Regions from separate parts of the Homo sapiens genome. Here all the other regions are linked to region 1. The links are contacts of gene promoters, found by promoter capture Hi-C in human tissues and cell types (Jung and others, 2019). All regions are on one chromosome and are shown on one strand. Each heading gives the region's core, a stretch centred on a gene start or on the middle of the fragment in contact. The rest is flanking DNA. Distances are from core to core; before and after follow the strand shown. Region 1 holds the start of CPA6 (carboxypeptidase A6). Region 2 overlaps CPA6 (carboxypeptidase A6). Region 3 overlaps CPA6 (carboxypeptidase A6).

Region 1 (3,131 bases), core at 306-2,805:
GTTCCTCCCAGAAATACTGGGGTGGAAAAATCCGTGATCATATTGCCATCTATAGCCCCTACCTCAGCCAACACCTCCATCTCATCCTGCCTCCCCTAAAACTGAGGACATGTTTCCAAAATTTCCTCTGTAAGCACTGTATTCAGAGGAACCCTAAAGGCAGTGCCAAGATTCTTTGGGAGAGAAAGAGAAATACAATTCTCTTTTCCAGGGTCACACTTACAAATTCTCTTTTACACTATTTCTAAAAAGAACAACTTGGTTTTAAGACACTGTACACTACCTTGTCATGATCCAGATCTACATGAAAACTTTTCTCAGGTGGTGATTATTGAATGATAGTAGCCTATTTAAAAATATGTAAGACACTGAGTTTACTCCTCTGTAAAAAGGAATTGAACTAGAGGAAGTATTTAAGGTTTTTCCAGATCTAAAGTGCAGGCAAGCCATAATTTCCAGATTCTAAGAACGACCCCCTGCATATGTGAGCAAATCACATGCTGTCTATACCACAGCAAGCCTTCAGGATAATAAGAATGTGCATAGTAACACACGGCTTCCAGCCCTCTGCCTCCTGAAGAAAGGCATATAGAAAGCATGCTTACCTACGGAGGGGGGACAAAACTGATTGTTTTACTCCTATGTTTTTCCTTCAGAAAAACTATCCATAATTTTACAGTTGACTACTTTTATTCTGCTTATTTTGAGTTGAATCATTTGCATTGCTCATATTTAAAAATCTAATAACCACTCTACAGACTAATAAGCACAGACAAAAAAAAAATCACACTCAGTTCTTAATCACTGATGAATTTCAACCCACCGCTCCTACATACAATTGTAAAGAAAGGCTTAGTTTTCAGGTCATAAATCATGTAGGACAACAGCATCCCCAAGCATCAACCAAGGCAAACACTGTAAATACTGACCATGGCTACTCCAAAGACAGAATCCCATTCAACCCTGGGTCCACAGCTAAGGTTGGCACATGATAAAAAGTATAAAAAGCCAGGTTGGAGCCCACCACATTCTCTCAGTGAGCTAAAGCCAAGAGCAGAGAGCTGTGAGTACATTTTATATAGAGGACCGTGAAAGTGTGCAGATTCACTCAGAGACCCCCAAATCAGAAAAAGTGAGGCACACTCTGGAGCAAACCAGCCCCCAGATCCAAATCAAAGCTGTGTAGGGCATGAATGTCGCTCCACTTACCCAGCATAGCGGTTGTTATAAAGGTGGCTGTGCCCCGGTTGCAGAATCTTCAAAAAGAGCCAGCAAAGAGGCAGGAAAGCAGCTGCCTGGCCCCTGCGCTTCCCGAGACACTTCATAGTGTTAAGAAGAGAGGAGTTGAAAGTTACTTAAGCAGCCACCCGAGGCTGGAGGTGGCTCACAGCACCCTCTACACACCGCACAGGTTCTCCGGGAAGGGGGTGGGCGAGGAAGGTTGAGAGTGAGCAAAATGTGACACTTCTCTCCAGCTACAAGGGAAAAAAAAAGTTCAGGCAGCTGAGGAAGGGAAGTTGCTATTACGACTTGGTCTTGGGACAAGCAGCAGCAGCAGCAGCAGCAGCTGAGCCTGATCTTTAATCAGGCTCCCCTAGAAAGGGCTGGGCCTCCCTCGTGCTGACTCACGGCAGGGGTTCACTGGGTGCTGCTTCCTTTGGGTGACTCCTCTCTGCTTTTGGTTTGTTTGCTTTCCCAACTTGAGGCCTCTAACTTTTCTGTGCAAGCTTTCTTTCTCTATCTTCTTCAGCATGAGGATCCTACCTAATTGCAAATGATTTGTCTGATGGGCTAAACAAGCAGACATGGATTATTCCAAGCTTAATGTTTTTTTGATCTCCCATGACAGATTCCTAAACGGATTCCACCTAATGAAATGCACAATGAACAATCATGATGAGAACGTGCACGGGGGTACCTATAGCACCCAGATCCGAACAGCTGGCTTCAGTTCACTGCTCCTGACTTACAGGAGTGGTCAGTGGCTTTATTGGGCTTCAGGGAGATCTTGGTACTCATTCTGCATCAGCAGCACCCAGACCTGCTGCTGTTTCAGAGGTTCTCGTGGGGAATAGGAGGCCTTCGAGTGCTTTGCCACCTTGGCTGTACATTTGGAATCATTTAGGGAGCCAGACCTTGAAAATAGAAACCGTGGTGGTGGGATCAGTGGTTTAAAAAGCTCCTTAGGTGATTCCAATATTCAACCACCATGCTGGTCTGGAGCAGGGCTTCTCAGAGCTCCACATGCATAGAAGTCACCTGGGGATCTCATTAAACTGCAGCTCTGACGTAGGTTGGAACAGGGGCCTAAGAGTTTTTATTTTTCTTTTTTGAGACAGAGTTTCGCTCTTGTTGCCCAGGCTGGATGGAGTGCCAAGTCCCCATCTCGGCTCACTGCAACCTCCGCCTCCCAGGTTCAAGCGATTCTCCTGCCTCAGCCTCCTGAGTAGCTCGGATTACAGGTGCCTACCACCACGCCCAGCTAATTTTTGTATTTTTAGTAGAGACGAGGTTTCCCCATGTCGGTCAGGCTGGTCTTGAACTCGTGACCTCAGGCAATCTGCTTGTCTCGGCCTTGCGAAGTGCTGGGATTACAGGTGTGAGCCACCACGCCTGGCCGAGTCTGCATTTCTAAAGAAGCTTCCAGGTGATGCTGGTGCCACTGGCTCTTCAGCCACACTTGGAGTAGCAAGACTTCACTTTAGAATGAGGTCTGCTTTTTCTTCCAAGCAAACCTTGGAGAAAACCATTTCCTTCTCTTTTTTCCCATGTTGATGATGAAAGCTTTTTAAAATTATTATTTGCATCCACTTGCTCCTATTCCAATACGCCACAAAACCCATTACAGGGGATGTGCCTCGCCCTATTAAATAAGCATAGGCACCTAGGGTGCCTCCTGTTACCTTTCATGCCCAGTCCTGGTTGTGCTCTAAAACAGAGAGTGAGCCACTATTTCCTCATCACACTCACAAAACTTTTCAGGCTTCCTGGAGAGTCATAGCCAAGAACTCCTGTACCCTCTAATACTATAGCCAGAGTCCCTGTTAGAAGAGAGAGCACCCAATCTTTCCCATCTTCTCTACCTGGGGAGTTGAACCAAAACTCCTTTGACAGATTCAATGTCAGGTTCA
Region 2 (3,131 bases), core at 251-2,750, 200 kb before region 1:
GGACATTTAGATGACCTTTTTCTTGAGACATCATGCTGCTTTACGCTTTGCTAAATGTCTAATTCATATAATTTTATCAAGGCACCAAATCTGTTTCTTGTTCTTTGATGTGGATTGCAGATGTAATTCGCTGCTTCTGCCATATATATATCTTTCGTACAACTTAAACTTTCTTCCCTTAATCCCCAACTTCCACCAGGATGCAAGCAGAGCTTACTGCGACTCCCCCTTCTTACCCACGCAGCTGCCTTTCACTTAATGATATACATGGGGAGTCTTCTGCCCTTTTTCATCCTAGAAGCTATTTGCAGATATTTTAGATCCATTTTTTTGGGGGGCCATCAAAGAGTAGGCCAAATTATTTTAAAGCCTGTTTGATTCATAATTTATCAACAAGAAAGACTTTTGCCTGTATACTTAAATTCCATTTTATATTTTTAGAAAGAAATTTTAATTTAATTAATGACTATAGAGTATAAGGATTTTTGGAATAATGATATTTTATAATTATAAAGCACCAGGTTATGTAGAAGTGATTTTTCTTTCAAATGTGTAGCAGCTCTTTTCAAAAAGTAGTTAAATTAGAATTTCATATATATGTTTTCAGAATGACAGAAGAATAATGTAGAAAAATTCACCTTATCCAGAATACAGCTCATTAATTTCTCCATAAACCCCAATGCTCCTCCCATATTTTTCTTTGAGTCAAGAGATTTGTTATCCACATTATAATGCACCCAAACTATAAATCTAACGGCCACTTTTAATGCTACTTCCTGGTCTACCTTCCAATTGGTTCTCAGGTAGATTCTGTCTCTGAAATGTCCCTCACCTTCAGCCCCATTGCCTGAACCTACACCTTGAATGTTTTCTTCCTGGTCTCTTACATTATGCTGCTGACTCATGTCCCTGGCTTTAGTCTTTCATTAATCTGTTTCTTTCCACAGTTGCTACTGTTACTTTTTTTTTTTTTTTTTTTTTGAGATGGAGTTTTGCTCTTGTTACACAGGCTGGAGTACAATGGCGTGATCTCGGCTCACTGCACTCCACCCCCTGGGTTCAAGCAATTCTGCCTCAGCTTCCCAAGTAGCTGGGAGAACAGGCATGTGCCACCACGCCCAGCTAATTTTTGTATTTTTAGTAGAGACAGGGTTTCTCCATGTTGGTTAGTCTGGTCTTGAATTCCTGACATTAGGTGATCCGCCCACCTCGGCCTCCCAAAGTGCTGGGATTACAGGCGTGAACTACCTCGCCTGGCCTACTGTTATCTTTCTAAAATGCAGCCACCTACTGAAAAATCTCTGTCATCCATCGAGTAGAAGATAAAGTCCAAACTCCTGGACAGCACATCTGAGCTCTCTGGTCATGCACCTTTTCATCATCTCCTCTCCCAGTCACACAGACAGACTCATCCCCCTCTGCCTCCATCCCCTGGCAGGATGGGTTTCTTTGCTGGAAGGTCTTGCTTGCTTCCTTACTATATCCCTCCCACCCCAAAACATGTCAAGAGCGAGGTGGTTTCAGGTTTTGTGGGAACCTGAGGCTTATACAATGTGGGGTCTAATGTAAGAAAAAGAGTACACAATTATGATTACAAAAATATAAACGGGATTGGAAGGGCCCCAGGCAATTGTAGGAACCTGAAGCTTCAGCTTGGTGAGCTTCCTGGTAAATCTGCCCCTGAATTATTGCTCAGTGAGTTTTATGAAATGATTGTTTATTAAGCTTTCTCAGTCTGGCCGAGTGACTAGGATAGCATGTGCTCATTAAAGATTTGTTGTTAAAGAATAAAACTCTACTGTCCCTCAAGGTTGGTTCAAATGTTACCTCTTCTGTATAGCCTTCCTTAATTTTTCCAGACAGTTATTTGCTGTTTCTTCCTTTTCCCATAGTCTTTGTAGACATCTTTATTATGGCACTTTCAACATCGCATGTAACTGCTTTTGTTTCTTGTATACCACTGTTTCTAAACCTTAAGGTACATCAGGATTAGCTTGAAGAGCTTGTTAAACCACTGATTGCTGGGCCCCATGTCCAGAGTTCTTGATTCAGTAAACCAGGGGTGGAGTCTAGGAATTTACACTTATTTATTTATTTTTAGAGATGGGTGTCTCTCTGTGTTGCCCAGGCTGGCCTCAAACTTGGGCTCAAGAAATCCTCTCACCTCAGCCTTCCAAGTAGCAGAGACTACAGGTGTGTGCCACCATGCTTAGCTTGAGGATTTACTTTATCTTTTTTCTGAGACAGAGTCTTGCTCTGTTGCCCAGGCTAGAGTGCAGTAGCACATTACAGCTCACGGTGGCCTCCAACTCCTGGGCACAAGCAATTCTTCTGCCTCAGCCTTCCAAGTCACTGGAACTACAGGTGTGAGCCACTGCACCCAGCTGAATTTACGTTTTTAACAAAATCCCAGGTGATGCTGAAGGCCAAGTTTATTTTTTATTTTATTTATTTTTTTTGTGAGATGGAGTCTCGCTCTGTCACCCAGGCTGGAGTGCAGTGGCGCCATCACGGCTCACTGCAAGCTCTGCCTCCTGGGTTCATGCCATTCTCCTGCCTCAGCCTCCCGAGTAGCTGAGACTACAGGCGCCCGCCACCACGCCCGGCTAAATTTTTGTATTTTTAGTAGATACAGGGTTTCACTGTGTTAGCCAGGATGGTCTCGATCTCCTGACCTGGTGATCCGCCCGCCTCGGCCTCCCAAAGTGCTGGGATTATAGGCATGAGCCACTGTGCCCGGCCGAAGGCCAAGTTTTAAATGAACTATACCTGATTCACTCTAAGCATATTCCTGGTACATGGTAGATGCTTAAATATATAAAAGTGAAAAAAGACTAAGATAAACATAGTATAAAATTTTAACTTTCTACACTATTAACAAGTAATGAATTATAGTCTTTTTTTTTTTTTTTTAGACAGGTTCTCACTCTGTCCCCCAGGCTGGAGTGCAGTGGTGCGATAATGGCTCACTGCAGTGACCTCCCAGGGTCAAGCAAACCTCCCACCTCAGCCTCTGGAGTAGCTGGGCCCACAGGTGAATGCCACCATGCTCAGCTAATTTTGTAATTTTTTGTGGAGATAAAGTCTCCTCATGTTGCCTAGGGTGGTCTTGAACTCCTGGGCTCATGCAA
Region 3 (3,131 bases), core at 447-2,946, 180 kb before region 1:
TGTAGAACTAAACTGAGTCAAAAATTAGAATGAAGAGAAAAAAAAAAACACAACCAGGGCCAAATAGGATGTGACAACATGCTTTACTTATTTAATTAAAATAGGAACCATAAAAATGTATGTTTTGGTGTTAACTAAAACAGAGAGTAACTGTTCCTGAGTAAATTAAACATGCTAATCAAGAACACAGATCTGGAGACAGCTGCCTGGGTTGCATTTGACTGATGGTTCTGCTTCTTATGAGCTCTACCTTCCTGGGATTATCAGCGTCATTCACTGCCTGAGGTTTTTGTATTAAGTGAGATCATATATGTAAAGAACATGAGTGACTGGCAAATTGTAACAACTTAGGAAGGTTAGCTAAATATCACCTTTTTTTCTAAAAATCTTGGACAGAACATGGGAAAGCACAGCTCTGAAATTCTTTCAGGGAGGTCATTCTTTAAGAGGCCTCAGCTGGGAAACCTGCTGTTGGAACAACCCATCTGGAGTTTGGGTAGGGAGAAGGAATCTCATATCCAGCTCCTTCTGACTACCTTTACACAAAAGTAGGCTGTGGGGCTCAGGGACGATTGATTGATACAAAAAGATCTGAGATTGTATAGCCTTAAAATCTCACTCCTTTCCCCTAGGAAGGCCACTTCCCTCCAACTTCTTTTCTCATGCTTTCTCTTTAAATCTGCAAATCTGCATGTTTAGTCCATGTCCTTCAAGGCTGTCCTTGATACTAATTTTACTGATTTCTACCACATTCTATGAGTCACAGTTAGAATTATTTATCCACCTTCCCTCACTCCCATGACTGAAGCAGTCATCTTAGGCTGCAAGTCTATTCCATATTTTGGGGTACGTGTAGCTCATTGATAAGTTGCCTCTTCAAAGGTTTCAATATGGAAGAACATTTCACAGTGCTATATACTGGTCCTAATATACTTCCACTGAATGGATGTTAGGAGGTCCTGGGGAAGGGACTTTGCATAAATTGTTCACAGCTGTATATCCAGGATGTGGAAGGGCACCTGCCACATGATAGGTGCTTAGCATTGCAAAAATGACATCACTGCCCCAGAAGAGTTTATCATCTTGTTGGCAAGACAAAATCCATGAATAGGAAACAGAAAGCACTAGGCAACTGGTCTCTGGTTCTAGGATTAAAGTTTGCCATTTCCTGGAGAGGTCTATAGTGGTAAAACCCAGATTTTTCTCTCTAGTCTCTGCCTGTGATGCTCCTAAAGCTTTTTTTGTTTGTTTGTTTGGGGTTTCTTTTTGGCAGCCTGTGCTTCTATTTCTTTCTCTGGGATGCAAGCTGAGCAGCGACGATTAAAAGTGTTCTTTTTTTTTTTTTTATGTTTTGGATATAGAGAACTACATCTAAGGTGTTAGCTTATTTAATTCAGGCCTCCTACTTGTGACTCAAGAATATATCCTTTTACAAAACTGAATTCTTATACAAGTGAGTTCTCAAGGTCATAGGAAGAGCAGTACAGAGCTGAATCAAAGGCACAGAATGTTCTTGTAGCTGTCATACCAGTAAAATTATACTCATCGTTGTCCACTAGAAGAGAAAAATGTCTATGTTTCCAGCCACTATTTCTGCCTAAAGTGAATTTTCTAATTTAAAAAGGCTTAATTCAGCTCTTTTCATACATTAAGTATGATGTCAATGCATTTTAATTAGGGATTAATATTGCTGATAGATTTCTGTGGTTTCTTTTTATGTAAAATGATCTGTAATGTGACAATATGTCTATCCCAATTAAACAATGATCAAAACATTCAGCTGCAAACAACAAAAGATAACACTATCGTTATGACAAATAATCCTTATGAAAGGATTTTCATAGGATTATTTGACTCAATGTCAAAACATGCTTACTGAAAGATGAACTGAGAACCGCAGCGTGGTCTTCTAGATCATTTAGTATGTAACATGTGGTCGGATCAGTTACGCCATCTGAATTAAAGCTAGAGATGGCTATCTAAATCAGCATGACCCGAAAACAAATATATTGGATAATGGAGAGCAGGTGGGAGGCAATGAGAGAGCAAGAATTGGGACTATGCCACAGCGTTTTTCTTTTTCTTTCTTTTTTTTTTTTGTTGTTGTTTTTTAGGATCTTGCTCTGTTGTTAGGTATGTTGTAAACTGCTGCAGAATCCTCCTCAAAACCCAGTTGTAGAGATTGAGACTGTCTGTAAATACTTCAAAGGAGAAAGAAAAAGAGGATAATGGGACGCAGAAAAACAAAAATGACAAGAAACGTTCTGTCAGCAGCATGCGATTAAAAAACCCCATACAGATCTGGCAGAGCATGGTTATTTCTGAAAATGACACTCACTTTGAAGGCTGTTCTTTTAGTCAGACCTCTGTTAGGCTAAGGACCTCTCCCACTGCTGACATGATAGATCAAAGGAAGCACCTTGCACTGTCTGAGGTGCATGACTAGCACAAGTCACTACAGACACAGAACAACAGAGCAGGCAATGGACGTGCAGCCAAATCACCATCACAAAATACCACTTCTTTCACTTCTTACAGGATAAACTACCTTGAAAAAGACCTTTAGGACTGCATAGTCAAGGATAGTTCCTTGCCAAACTGTTTAGTTTTTTTCCCAAGAGAAAATAGAATGAGCAGGTCATTAGTTGGTATGGATCAATTTCTACTCTGAAATGTGGTTTTATTTGTAATGTCAGTTTGTCTCAGCACCTTGACTCTCAGGAAGATGAGATCTCTCTGAGATGTCATCTTCACTTTGAAAAAGCTTTCAAAAAAATATCAGACTCCTCGTATGCCACTTTGGAGAATGCCTCCTGCAAATACTTGGATAACAAGGGTCACCATGACAAGGGAAACATCCTTTCTGTTGCCAAGACCAAATTAAATTTTCAGAGAGAATTTCACTCCTAAATGGTTACAGCTGATTCATGATTTTCATTTCTTTGCCAGACACTCAAATGGTTTCTGAAGGGGCTTCCAAGGCAAAAGCAAATCCTCACCTCTGGATAAATAGCTCAAGTCTCAGAGGAGATAATAGCCAATTCTCCAGTGTTCTTTTGTTTGGCATTCTCCTCTCTTCCCATTGTCGTTTCAATAGTATTAGTCATTAGTTTTCCTGCAGAAGAACATCT

What was found. The method cuts DNA at HindIII sites, captures the fragments that hold promoters and counts their contacts. A contact is called where the count stands out against the background at its distance.
Region 2: a fragment that was not itself captured here is called in contact with the fragment with the promoter of CPA6 in region 1 in 2 of the 25 tissues and cell types used here (H1 embryonic stem cells and dorsolateral prefrontal cortex).
Region 3: a fragment that was not itself captured here is called in contact with the fragment with the promoter of CPA6 in region 1 in 3 of the 25 tissues and cell types used here (H1 embryonic stem cells, bladder and thymus).

Annotation. Positions count from the first base shown.
Region 1 is chr8:67,744,805-67,747,935 of GRCh38, forward strand. CPA6 (carboxypeptidase A6) reads right to left here and starts at 1,556. Exons shown (of 11, transcript NM_020361.5): 1 at 1,210-1,556. The coding sequence starts at 1,325. RefSeq lists an enhancer at 1,382-1,882. The HindIII fragment of the contact is 6,623 bases long and covers 1-2,230 here.
Region 2 is chr8:67,544,604-67,547,734 of GRCh38, forward strand. All of the region lies in intron 2 of CPA6 (carboxypeptidase A6), which reads right to left. Among named protein-coding and RNA genes, the nearest start is that of CPA6, 200 kb to the right of the region's middle. The HindIII fragment of the contact is 5,580 bases long and covers 1-3,131 here.
Region 3 is chr8:67,563,084-67,566,214 of GRCh38, forward strand. The region is part of intron 2 of CPA6 (carboxypeptidase A6); the gene reads right to left. All of the region lies in intron 2 of LOC105375886 (a long non-coding RNA gene), which reads left to right. Among named protein-coding and RNA genes, the nearest start is that of CPA6, 180 kb to the right of the region's middle. The HindIII fragment of the contact is 4,828 bases long and covers 1-3,131 here.